2 separate regions of the Homo sapiens genome follow, and region 2 is linked to region 1. Evidence: promoter capture Hi-C in 16 types of primary human blood cells and fetal thymus (Javierre and others, 2016). All regions are on one chromosome and are shown on one strand. Each heading gives the region's core, a stretch centred on a gene start or on the middle of the fragment in contact. The rest is flanking DNA. Distances are from core to core; before and after follow the strand shown. Region 1 holds the start of AATBC (apoptosis associated transcript in bladder cancer). Region 2 overlaps TRAPPC10 (trafficking protein particle complex subunit 10).

Region 1 (6,463 bases), core at 1-2,500:
GGCCAGAGGTCGGGAGGGGACAGAGGGAGCCACATAGGAGCCTCTACCAGCCCCTTTCTTACCACGGGGTGGGGGCGCTTCCCTCCCACAGGGTCTCAGGCTTGTGGGCTCCCCCCAGCTGCCCAGGCCCCAGAGGGCACTTCTGACCCTTCTCTTTGGGGTCTGCCCTGGGGGGCTCCAGGCCACTTGCTCCACCCCATCCCTCTTCTGGAGCCTCCCAGCACCTCAGTTCCGACTGTGGGGAAAACAGAACCCTAGGAAGCAACCTCACGGCTGTGGGCAGGGGAGGGCGGCCGGGAGCCCCAGCTGCCCCACAGGGACATTGAGTGAAGGCAGAGCCTGGGAGGGAAGTCAGATCCGTGCATGGGTCCCTTCCTGTTGGTGTTGGCGTCCCTGAGTGAGCAGCCATCCGCCGCCCCCTGGAAAGAGACCTGGAGAAGCAGCTTCAAGCTTTGGAGCCCAGCCCAGCTGCTAGCAGCCCCTGGGTCACAGTGCGAAGGGGGAAGGCAGGGGCTTGAGGAAGAAAGTGAGAGGATTGTGCCTGGGGGCCCCTGGAGGGCCAGTCTGGAGGCGCGTTGGGGTGAGGCGGTGCTGGCTGTGCCCGTCTGAGATGGGCAGAGGGAAGGCGCCCAGGGCTGAGCCCAGGGTCCCCAGGCCAGTCCCTCACTGCTCTGGGGTTCAGTTTCCTCACCTGCACAAAGGGCGGGTCCCGTGCTCTCCGGAGGCCACACGGGGTCTCCCTGAGGCACTGAGTCTGGCTTGTTTCTGGAAACTGAGGCACAGGAGGACGTTGATAACCGGCCTTCCTCTGTTCTCTTTCCCAGGGGTGCAGCTCGTCCGTCCCATGGTTTCAGATTTGCCCGGTGTGTTGCAACCACCACCTGGCACTCAGCTTGCCCGGTGCCGCCTGGCCCCGCAGCCTTTCCCAGGCCTTGCAAGGGTGGCACAGATGGGGAAACTCCATCTGCAGGGGCGTCACCCCCGAGGGATGTGTCCTCCACACTCCCTTGATGGTCACGTGGGTCCCGGGAGGGCGCGTGTGACTCTTCCCAGGATTGCAGCGTTGGGGCGTTGTGCCAGCCTGGCCCCGTGGGTGCGGAGTGCCGTGGACCCCTCGGCCCTCCTGACCTTGTTTCCCTTTGATGTAGAAGTCTGCATGGCATGAATTCCAGTGACAATGGGCCGGGCCAGGCTCCCTGTGCCCCTGGTACCGCTGCCCAGGGCCGGTCTCTGCAGTCACCCTCCTTCCTTCCTGGTGGCTCCTCCCTCCCTCCTTTGTTCTTCTTTCTTTTCCTGCCTAAATGTTTATCGAGTCCCTCCTGCATTAAGTACCCGTGCTGTGCAACAAATTACCTTGAACTTGGTGACTTCACCACCACTGCATGTCAGCGCCCAGCCGTAGACGAGGGTTTGGGAGGCATGGCTGGGCCTGCCCAGGGCTCCCTGGCTGAAGTGGGTGCTGAAGCTGCCAGGCACTGGAGGCTGGGCCTCTCGCACACTCCCTGGCTGTTGGGAGGGTGCATTCTTCTTTCTTCCTTGTCTTCTAGAGGATGCACTCTTGGCTGTAGGCCTCCCGTTTCTCTCACGGGCTATTCCTGGGGTTCCCTCAGATCCTGGAGGTGCCCACAGCCCCCTTCCCCGAGGCTCCCCCCCCCACACACTTTGCTTCTTCAGTGCCAGCAGGAGAAATTCTCCCTCATCAGCTTCCTCAGAGAAGGGCTCACCTGGTCAGGTCAGGCCCCGCACTCGGGCAGGCACAGCAGGGCGCACCCCATGACGCACCCAGAACCCGCCCCCACAGCCCCGGAGTCCTGGCCGCTGTCCCCAGCCCTACGCCCCTCTCAGAGCTTGAGCCAGGGGCAGCGCAATGGGCAGCTCCTTCCCTCTCCTGTCCCTGGAAAACTGCTCTGGGTGATTTGGCGGAGAGTGAGAGGATTCGAAAACGCTGGTACGTGGCAGGGGCTGGCAGATTCCAAAAGTGGCCCCAGACTCCCTGGACACCCAGACCATCCACCTGGTGCCACAGTACCTGATTCCCATGGCCAGGGCATTGGGGAGCCAGGCAGGGGCAGGGGAGGGGCGTTCCAGGTCCTCCCTCCTTGCCTTGACCTACATCCCAGGTGACCCAGCGAGGCCCAGGCCCCCGCCCAGTCTGCCCCGCCTCACAGTCAGGCTTCATCCTCATCCCCAGCAGCCCCTGGGCCCCCCATGTCACCCTCAGGGCACTTGAGGGCAGGGTCAGGCCAGACCAAGTGTGGGGCCTGGCCAGGAGCAGGTGGTGCCGGGGAATGAGTATAGGGCTTATGGTGCCGTGGCCTGTCTGCTGCCTGGTCTGTCCTAAGGCCAGTGGCCCTGTCCCTAGGCTGTGGGGCACAGGTCCCATTCCCCGGGGGAGTGAAGGGCTCAGGCAGCAGGCAGCCCCGTCCCCTCCCCTAGGGTGTGCCTGGGTGACTCCTGGGCTGGCCGACTGGGAGCTAGCCTGAGTGTAGGTTTTGAGTCTGAGCACCAGGTCCTCACCCTGCCCCTGGCACCCCTTGGGCACCTCCTGGCACCCTGTCTGCTTTGTGCCACTTGCCCTGGGGTCTGTCCCTCCCTTGGACAGACAACAGTGTCCTACTTTTTTTTTTTTTTTTTGAGAGAGAGAGTCTCGCTCTGTCGCCCAGGCTGGAGTGCAATGGCATGATCTCGGCTCACTGCAACCTCCACCTCCTGGGTTCAAGCGATTCTCCTGCCTCAGCCTCCTGAGTAGCTGGGATTACAGGCACACGCCACCATGCCCAGCTAATTTTTATATTTTTAGTAGAGACGGTTTCACCACGTTGGCCAGGCTGGTCTCCAACTCCTGACCTCATGATCTGCCCGCCTTGGCCTCCCAAAGTGCTGGGACTACAGGCGTGAGCCACTGCGCCCGACCCATAATGTCCTACTCTTGCCTGAAGGCTCTGAGCCGTTCGGGTCTCCTGGACACGGAGAAGCCACAGCCCAGTGCCACCTGTCCTTTTCTCTCCGCTGCTCACAGGGGCCGAGGTCTGCACACCCATGGCTGCCCCAGGCTGCCCGCCAGGAGCTGCCTTTTCCCTGGCCAGGCTGTTTCTCAGCCCTGCGGTTCCCAAGGAAACGGGCTTCCAGGCAAGCCCGGGTGGAGTTCACTTTTCTCCCAATTGGAATTCGGCTGAATTGAATCCAGCCTCTGCTCCCCTCACCTCCGCATCCTGAATTTCTGCTCCCAGCTCCCTCGGCCTGGGTCAGGTTGGGTGGGTGGTGACACCGTATTCTGGCCCTTGGGGTTTAGGTCAGAGGTGCTGGGGCCTGTGTGGGGTGATCATGGCACTCTGCGGAGAGGGAGGGAGCCAGGCCAGGAGGTCGGCTTGGCTGGAGACAGCCTGGTCCCACTGGGAGCCCTGGAGCACCTGGAGTTGGGCTGGCTGGGGCAGGAAGGTTGTCTTTTGGGCACCCCTCCAACCCGTCAATCAGCCGTGGGCTGCCCTTCCATTGAGATGTGGGGAAAACCTTGATGAGGTTTGTTCAAGGTGAATGTTCGTGAGGTGTGAGCCACTGCGCCTGGCACATGATGTCCTACTCCTGCCTCTCGCCTCAGGCAAGGGTCCGCAACAGCCGGGCTCAGCCTCTGTTTTGGAGGGAGGAAGGAAGGAAGCAGGAAGACTACCTGAAGCCCCCAGTAAGTGCAGTGGAGAAGATAGAGCAAGGTGAAGGGTTGGCCGTGTGGAGGGCGAGTGTGCGGTCAGGGGAGGGCTTCTTTGGGCAAATATTTGACAGAGGCAAAGCCGGGAGCCAAGTGGATATTTGGGGCAGAGTGGGGTTGGCGGCAGGAGTAGCCAGTGCCAAGGCCCTGCAGGGGTGCACGGGTGTGTAGACCGGTGAGAGGGCGTGGCAGCAGGGGAAAGGGGGGTGGGCGGGGGGGAGGGGGGGCGACCGGTGAGAGGGCGTGGCTGCAGGGGAAAGGTGGGTGGGCGGGGCGGGAGGCGACCGGTGAGAGGGCGTGGCTGCAGGGGAAAGGTGGGTGGGCGGGGCGGGAGGCGGCCGGTGAGGGGGCGTGGCTGCAGGGGAAAGGGGGGTGGGCGGGGCAGGGGGGCGGCGGGGAGAACAAGTGGCCCCATCCTTTGAGGCCGCTGTGTGAGTCTGCTCTGGTGGCCGTGACAAAGGACCACAGGCTGGGGCTTCAGCAACCCACATAGATTCTCCCACAGTCCCGGAGGCTGGGGCCCGAGGCCAGGGTGCAGTGGGGCTGGCTCCTGAGGCCTCTCTCCTGGGCTGGCACCTGGCGCCTCCTCCCCGTGTCCTCACAGGGCCGTTTTCCTGTGTGTCTGTGTCCTCATTGCCTCTTATAAAAACACAGGTAGGTTGGGTGGGGTCCACCCAAATAGCCTTATTTTAACTTAAAAAACTTTTCATGTTCTGGCTTCTCAATTATTTTTTTTTAATTAAGGTATTTGTGACACTTAAAGATCATATATTTAAGATACAATTTGCTGATTTACAATCTAATTTTAATCTAATCTCCTCTCTTAAGACCCTACCTCCAAATACAGTCACAGCTGGGATCCTGGGGGAGTTAAGACTCCCACGTTCGGATTTTTGAGGGACACAGTTTGGCCCGTGACAGTCCCTTGCTGTCTGAGGGACACAGTTCGGCCCGTGACAGTCTCTGCTGTCTGAGGGACACCGACCCCCTGTGCGTTTCCTGTCTCCAGCTGCCTGTGTCGGTCACACATGTTATTCTCACGCGCTGGCCCTGGTCACCTGGTCCCCTCCGCACCCTGGGCACATGCCGGCCTTGGTCACCAGGTCCCTTCCGCACCCTGGGCCGTGCCGCACTTGGGTGGCATTTTGGGTGGAGCAGCCCCGGCCCCTGCCTCCCTCTCCTGCTGAGGGTTAACGGGGCCTGATCTCTGGGTGAGCTGCTGTGCCCTGTGCACTTCCGCCTCCAGGACCCTCAGCCACCACCAGGGCACAGCCCAGCTCAGCCAGGTGGTGAACGGACACAGGAGCTACTGGGGAGATTTGGCCCCAGGTCAGGTCCTGGCCTTGGGCGTGTGGCCCTTGTGGGGCCAGAAAACCTGTCCCTACCGCCCAGCAGGTGCTAGGGGATGACATAGCCCCTCCTGGACATAGGCCCTCCTGCCACTCTCCCCCTGACCAGGAAGTCACCCCCAACTGCCCCTCTGACACTTTCCCTGTGAGAGGCAACCAGGCACCCCACAAAGCCTGCTGTGGGTTCTCCCAGACCCAGGCTGGAGGGACTGACCCATCAGCCACCTCCCCTCCACCCCTCCCCAACCCCCCTGGCCCCAGACAGCCTCTGTCCACGAGGGGTGTGCCCCCGGAGCTGGCCACAGCCCCAGCAGGGACGGCAGCTCTGTGGGGCTGGTGGGGGGTGCCTCTGCAGGGCACAGGTGGACAAGAGGCCTCTCCTGCATGGCCTGCAGGAGGCCCAGCCTAGGAGGAGGGCTGAGGGCACCAAACGAGGCAAAGCCTGGGGGACCATGGTTGGGGTGGCCAAGGAAAGAAGGGGGGCAGCAGAGAGCGCCATCTGCTGCAGGCTGAGCTCAGGACGGAGGTCTGGGCACACTTGGCTTGGGGCAGGTGGCCGCCTTGTGTGGGTCGAGGAGGTGCAACCTGACCTGTGACCCAGTCCCTGGTTCTGAGGTCACAGCGAGGCCACTGGAGACCTCAACTGGCCGGGCCGTTCGCCGTGCAGGGTGGCTGCAGAGACCCGCTCAGCAGGTGCCCACTGTCACCCGGCCGGAACCAGCAGGCAGGCGTGGCAGGACAGACCACAGGGAGGATGCTGGAGGGGCCAGGGAAGCACATTTAGCACACTTGGGGCTGCCTGTGGTCTGACGCCCCAGAGGGTGACACCTTTCGAGGCTCGAAGGCAGCTCAGGGCAGCTCCTCCCACACAAAGGCCTCCTCTGGGCTGTGAGGGTCAGTGTTTCTCCTGGGGCCCAGCCCTGGGGCCTCTTTGCATGCCCTCTGGGTGCCGGCTCAGGAGGGCACTGGCCCCAGGCCTGGCTCCGCCCCAGAAACCGGGTGGCTGTGTGTTAGCTGGGCAGTGGCTTCTGAGGGGCTGTACCAGGAGGCTCAGTGGGCATCCCCAGGGCTTCTCCTCAGTGCTGTGGTCCCACCCTAGACTGGGTAGCCAGCCTGGCGCCCTCCTCCCACATAGTGTCACAGACAGGCCCACCGACCCTGTGGGCTTGGGGTGGGACAGCCAGGATCCCAGTCTCGGCAAGGCCTGGTACGGTGGGCGTCTCAGCTGCAGCCAGCATTGTGTCCGCCCCCTCCGCGAGGCAGTGTGTTTGTGATCAGAGCAGGAGTGTAGCCTGCTGGTTTCGGTACACGTAGAATGCGTGCCAGTGCACGCTAGCAGCATCTGTTGTGTTCCTTGTGCGGCAGCTCCATGCCATGGCCAAGGTCTCAGTCTCTGTCCTGCTGATTGCTG
Region 2 (6,463 bases), core at 2,798-5,297, 290 kb after region 1:
TCACTTGAACCCAGGAGGTGGAGGTTGCAGTGAGCCGAGATCCTATCACTGCACTCCAGCCTGGGCGACAAAGCGAGACTCCATTTCAAAAAGAAAAAAAAATTAAGCTACTTTTTAATGATCTCATATGATATAAAACTTATGGTATCATAAAAAGTTAAAGATTTACCAATTTTGTACAATCTTCTGCTGGGACAAGGCCAGGCAAAGGGAGTCAGGGCAGGGACAGGTGCTGTGGGGCCTAAAGCAGCATGCATAGGCGTGCTGTGAGGCGGGGCCTGCCCATGGTGTCTGCTCAGCACCCTTCGCATGGCGTGTGTTTCGCTGCAGTGTCTGTGTCCTCTTTGCGGTTATGGTGCTGTGTGAGCAGTGACCCCCAACTCTCTTTCCAGCCCATCTACAGCAAGCAGTCGGTGTTCTTCGTCTGGGAACTCAAGTGGACAGAAGAGCCTCCCCCTTCTCTGCATTGCCGGTTCTCTGTTGGATTTTCCCCAGCTTCTGAGGAACAGCTGTCTATCTCCTTAAAGCCGTATACTTATGAATTTAAAGTGGAAAATTTTTTTGTAAGTGATGTATTATTTTGGGAGGGTGGGGGTGAAAAAATGAAAGATGGCATTATGTTCTTTATAATCTGAAGAACTGAATAGACAGCTTCTGTCAACATAATGAAGGAGCAGCTGGAGAAAAACAGTTGTTGGGGTAGTTGAATCATTGACTGTCTTTATTTTAGAACCCCAGGTCCTTCTCAAGTGACACATCTGAGATGCCCACACTCCTGGGGGCATCTCTAAGAGGAGTGTTTGTCATTTGGAAAGCCCAAAGATTCCTTTTTTCTTCTATCTTTTTCCCTTTCTCATGTTGACTTAGTAACTCCCTGGAAATATTTCTTGGAGTCATTTCATCTTCAGGGGCATTGCTTTCTAAGGCATATCTCTAGTTTTTCAAAGAAAAGCTGAAAACATATGAAAACCTGCTAGCTGAGTATTGTGAAGATTTTCTTAGAACTTGTGCATCATTTGGTAGAAGCCAATTTGAGTGTGGAATGAAGAGTAGCCTTGAGCTAGGTGAGTAGATACAGGTGTGTGCTGTGTTCCTTTAGGGAGATGATTTGACTTAATGTTTTGCAATTTTGTGATACTTTCTTTTCTTCTCTTTACTATTTGAAATTATCAAACAATGTTTATTTGAAGTGTTTGTCTTTATAGTTTTGATATTAGCAGTTTTTTTCTATCTTCTTCCATCCAAGACAAATTGTTTTGACCTTCATGTTTTATATAACTCTCCTTAAATAAATTTAAATGAATAAATAAAACCACAAATTATTAAATAATTTAATTAAATCAAATAATAGTATATATTATAATAATAATTTATATATAAACAAATTATTTATTTATGAGACAAGGTCTCACTCTGTTGCCCAGGCTGGAGTGCAGTGGCACAATCATAGCTCACTGCAGCCTGGACCTTCTGGGCTCATTATCTTCCCACCTCAGCCTGCCAAGTAGCTGGGACCACAGGCACGTGTCACCACACCTGGCTAATTATTTTTATTTTATTTTATTTATTTATTTATTTATTTATTTATTTTCGAGACGGAGTTTCACACTTGTTGCCCAGGCTGGAGTGCAATGGCACGATCTCGGCTCACCACAACCTCTGCCTCCCAGGTTCAAGCGATTCTCCTGCCTCAGCCTCCTGCGTAGCTGGGATTACAGGCATGCACCACCACGCCTGGCTAATTTTTTGTAGAGGCGGTGTTTCTCCATGTTGATCAGGCTGGTCTCAAACTCTCTACCTCAGGTGATCCACCTACCTTGGCCTCCCAAAGTGCTGGGATTACAGGTGTGAGCCACTGTGCCCGGCTAAAGTATGGGTTTTTTTTTGTTTTTTGTTTTGTTTTGTTTTTTTGAGACAGAGACTCGCTGTGTCGCCCAGGCTGGAGTGCAGTGGCGCGATCTCGGCTCACTGCAACCTCCGCCCCTCTAGGTTTAAGCAATTATCTGCCTCAGTCTCCGGAGTAGCTGGGATAACAGGCATGTGCTGTGCCACCACGCCTGGCTAATTTTTTGTATTTTTAGTAGAGATGGGGTTTCACCATCTTGGCCAGGCTGGTCTTGAACTCCTGACCTCATGATCCACCCCGCTTGGCCTCCCAGAGTGCTGGGATAACAAGCATGAGCCGCCGTGCCTGGCCCAAAGTACGGGTTTGTATGTTGCTGTATCTATTCAATTCTCCTGGTAAAGACCTGAGTGGAATTTCTGGGTCATAGGGTAACTCTGTGGTTAGCTTTTTGAGCAACTGCCAACTTTTTCCAGAGGGCTCTACATTCCCACCAGCAACATAGTGGATTCCAGCTGGGACCCAGAGAGTCCCAGCTTCTGTGTGTCCTGCCAGCACTTGTCTCACTGTGTTTTTGGTTGTGGCTGTCCCAATTGGCAGGCGTTTCCCCAGTGGCTGGTGATGTGCTGCGGCTCGTGGGCGTGTGGCCCATTTTTCTGCCTTCTTTGGAAGGATGTCTGTTCAGATCCTTTCCCCATGTTTAAATAGGGTTATTTGTTTTTTATTATTGAATTGTAAGTTCTTTATATATCCTAGGTACCAGGTCCTTATATATGATTTGCAAGTATTTTCTTCCATTTGTTGTCTTTTGAAGCACCAAAGTTAAATTTTGATGAAATCCAATTCAACTCTCTCTTTTATTGCTTAAATTTTTTGCTTTGGACCTAGAAAATCATTGCCTTTGGTCAAAAAGATTTTCTCTTGCATTTCCTTCCAAGATGTTCGTAATTTGAGCACTTGCATTTAGGTCTGTGATCTACTTTGACTTAATTTCTGTGTATGGTGAGAGGTAGGGTCCAAATTTGTTCTTTTCAAATGACCCAGCAGGTGTCCCTATCCCATCTGTCATGACGATGCTTTCCTCCCTGCAGGGTGGCCCTGGCCCCCTTGCCAGATTCCAGCTGGCCGTCAGTGCTCGCGTGTCTCTCTGAAGAGGCTCTGCGGTTCTGGTCCCTGTGCCTGAGCTCCAGGTGCCGCCAGGTGAGGCCCCTGCTGCTCGCCTTGGGCTGTGCTTTCCCCCAGCCACTCTCCTTCCCAGATGCAGCCCAGAGCAGCGTTCAGGCACACGCAGGTCTCATCACACCCCACTGTGTCCTACTGCAACTCTGGGTGTCCTTCAAGCCCTGAGGCAAATCTGCATTCTTTGCTGGATTCAGAAACATTCAGACTGTGCCCCAGCCAGAAGCTTCTGAGGAGGAGGTATTTCAGTGGGCCTCTAGCACAGTGTTCTACTGCTTCAGTTCCCAGGACCTACGGGCACCCGGGCCCACGGCTGGCACTTTTGCATCTGTGTATTTGGGATCTTTTCTGCCCTGTGGCTTGAGAGCCCCAGGAAGTCCCAGCATGGCCCCTCTTGAGACTGGTGGGAGTTTGTCCCATGTCCGAACAGAGGTAATTGGGCATTTGGTAGGAGATCACCTAGAAAGGCCGCTCTTGGGACTGCTGTTTAGGCTGTGAACTCCCATAAAACGGCTTCATCTTGGCCTCAGACTCCAGACAAATGCTTCTTAATATACTGAAATCTCTTCTTTGAACATTTTACAATGCCAATAGAACACTTTTTAAGTCAAGCTATACTGTATTACACACGCTCGCGCGCACACACAACGCTTCCCCTCAGAAGTGGAACTGCCAGGTTGTAGTGCATGAGCCCTTTTTCATCTTGGCAGTGGCAGATGTGTTTTGATCGTTTGTCATGGGTGGTGGTAGAATGTTAAGCATGTTTGAATAGCCACCGAGAATAGGTTGATTATGGAAAGAAAACACGGACAAAGTAGATTATGGACTGAATTGGGTTATACCAAGGAATTCCTGTTGCTTTTGCTAGTTGTAATAATAGCATTGTGTTTTGGTAAGAAAAAGGCCTTAGTGTTTAGTAATGCATACTGAAGCAGATGGGGCAAAATAACAGGTTGTCTGAAATTTGCTTTATTTTTTTATTTTATTTTATTTTTTTAGACAAGAGTCTTGCTCTGTCACCCAGGCTACAGTGCAGTGGTGCGATCTCAGCTCACTGCAACCTTTGCCTCTTGGGTTCAAGGGAATCTCCTGCTAAGTAATCCAAGTAGCTGGGATTACAGGCACCTGCCACTGTACCCGGCTAATTTTTGTATTTTTAGTAGAGACGGGGTTTCACCATGTTGCCCAGGCTGGTCTCGAACTCCTGACCTCAAGTGATCTGCCCACCTCGGCCTCCCAAAGTGCTGGGATTACAGGCGTGAGCCACCATGCCTGGCCTGAAATTCGCTTTAAATTACCTCAGGCAAATACAGAAATGTCCATGGCTTGATAAGAGGATGCTGAGGCAGCAAGATGCTGAGATCTCAGGATCTGGGTGATAGGCGGCTGGAAGGGCTCTGTGCTATCCTTTCTTCCTGTGGTTGAAAATGTTCATAATTTAAAGAAGGATGTTAAGGTTCGGAGTGTAGGACTTCCGAAAACATTGCATCTCCAGTGGGAATTATTGAGAGTGAGTGGCGACAGTTGCTCTAAGGCCAGCCGAGCAGATAGGTGTCTATCCTCAGCTCTCCAGGGTCTGTGGGCAGCTCTGCTTTTTCCTCTAGTTGCATTTCTTGAGGCCACTTAGGTACATTTCCTTTCTATTCTCTCCCTTTCCTGCCCAGACATTATACAACGTGAAGGCTGAGATCTTTCCCCCTTCGGGAATGGAGTATTGCAGAACAGGCTCCCTCTGCTCCCTGGAGGTTTTGATCACGAGGCTCTCAGACCTCTTGGAGGTGGATAAAGATGAAGCACTGACTGAATCTGATGAGCATTTTTCGACAAAGCTTATGTATGAAGGTAGGTGGTCTCGAACCCATGGGCTCAAGCAGTCCTCCCGCCTTGGCCTCCCAGAGTGTTGGGATTACAGGTGTGAGGCACTGCACTCAGCCTATCTTGCATTTTGAATGGCTCTTTTACCCAGGCATCATAGCGTTACACCCTGTGCCATTAGTCATGTGGGAAACATGGTTTCCTGAGTTGTGCAGATCTTCCAAATGTGGGCACCTTTCGTTTGACAATATTTTTTTAAAATCTGCATTTGTGATCTCTCAGGGAGGGCTTGGAGCATCAGAACTCTTTCAAGCTCACAGTGGCAAGTGTAAGTTTTCCAAAATTCTGATTTTTGCTTAAAGTCTCAGATGGCATCATTGGCAGCAAATAGTCGTGTTGTTTTCTTTGAAGTGACAGGCTTACATCATTCATTTTTAATCAGACGTCTACCAAATACCCAACACTGAATAACTAGCTTCCCCAGCGCTCTTGCAAGTGAAAAGGGCGTTCTGTGAAAACAGCGGCTATTTCAGCTCGCAGCACCGAGCGCTCCCCGTGTGCTTTCCCTGAGCCAGCTGTCATTCTGCAGCAGAGACCCAGAGAATGTCAAGAACACAAGCACTCAAGAATGGAAATAACTCAAACGTCCTTCAGCTCGAGAGCGGTTAAACTGGCACATCTGATTCCTCCTCAGCAGTGAAACAGAAGGGACTGTTGACACACGCAGTGCTGTGGTTGGATCTCAAGGGCATTATACTAAGAGAAAAACGCCAGTCCTATAAGGAGGTGTACTGTGTGATTCCATTTCTAAATGACATCCTCAAAATGCCAGCCTCAGAAGGAGAGCGGGTCAGTGTTCCACGGAGCAGTGGGAGGCAGCAGGAGGCCGTCCTCTGTGGTAATGGAGAGTTCTGGGCCAGGGCCGCTGTGGTTGTTACACGAATCTACACATGTGACAAATGCCATAGAATTAGACCCAAAGAATGCCTGCGAAAGCTGCTGAAATCCAGTGGGGTCTGCAGCCTGGTTCACTCTGTAGTGAAATCCAGTGGGGTCTGCAGCCTGGTTCTATCTGTATTGAAATCCAGTGGGGTCTGCAGCCTGGTCCACTCTGTAGTGAAATCCAGTGTGGTCTGCAGCCTGGTTCTATCTGTATTGAAATCCAGTGGGGTCTGCAGCCTGGTCCACTCTGTAGTGAAATCCAGTGGGGTCTGCAGCCTGGTTCTAGCTGTATTGAAATCCAGTGGGGTCTGCAGCCTGGTCCACTCTGTAGTGAAATCCAGTGGGGTCTGCAGCCTGGTTCTATCTGTATTGAAATCCAGTGGGGTCTGCAGCCTGGTTCACTCTGTAGTGAAATCCAGTGGGGTCTGCAGCCTGGGTCACTGTATGGTACCAGTGTCAGCTTCCTGTGTTACACGAGATGGCACAGTTGGGTGAAGCTGGTGATGAAGGTATGTGACCCCTCTACTACTTTTACAACTTCTTGTGAGTCTATAAACATTTCACAATTAAAAAAAAGTCTACTCAGGAGCTGAATTTAATAAAATGAGCACTTTTGACTGCTTTGTGAAGCGTGGCATTTTTTTTTTTGTTTTTTTGCTGTGAGTTCATGGTAGTAAAGAACAT

Evidence for each region. Contacts are between HindIII fragments. The CHiCAGO score rates a contact against its expected background, and 5 or more counts as called.
Region 2: a fragment that was not itself captured here is called in contact with the fragment with the promoter of AATBC in region 1 in 1 of 17 cell types (endothelial precursors); the score reaches 7.1 in endothelial precursors.

What each region holds. Positions count from the first base shown.
Region 1 is chr21:43,811,317-43,817,779 of GRCh38, forward strand. It overlaps AATBC (apoptosis associated transcript in bladder cancer), which reads right to left and starts at 1,251. Exons shown (of 2, transcript NR_026961.1): 1 at 1-1,251. It overlaps LOC124905033 (a long non-coding RNA gene), which reads left to right and starts at 1,356. Exons shown (of 2, transcript XR_007067897.1): 1 at 1,356-3,679. The HindIII fragment of the contact is 6,406 bases long and covers 449-6,463 here.
Region 2 is chr21:44,093,671-44,100,133 of GRCh38, forward strand. TRAPPC10 (trafficking protein particle complex subunit 10) reads left to right here. Exons shown (of 23, transcript NM_003274.5): 20 at 393-563; 21 at 4,687-4,864. Among named protein-coding and RNA genes, the nearest start is that of PWP2, 10 kb to the right of the region's middle. The HindIII fragment of the contact is 1,603 bases long and covers 3,247-4,849 here.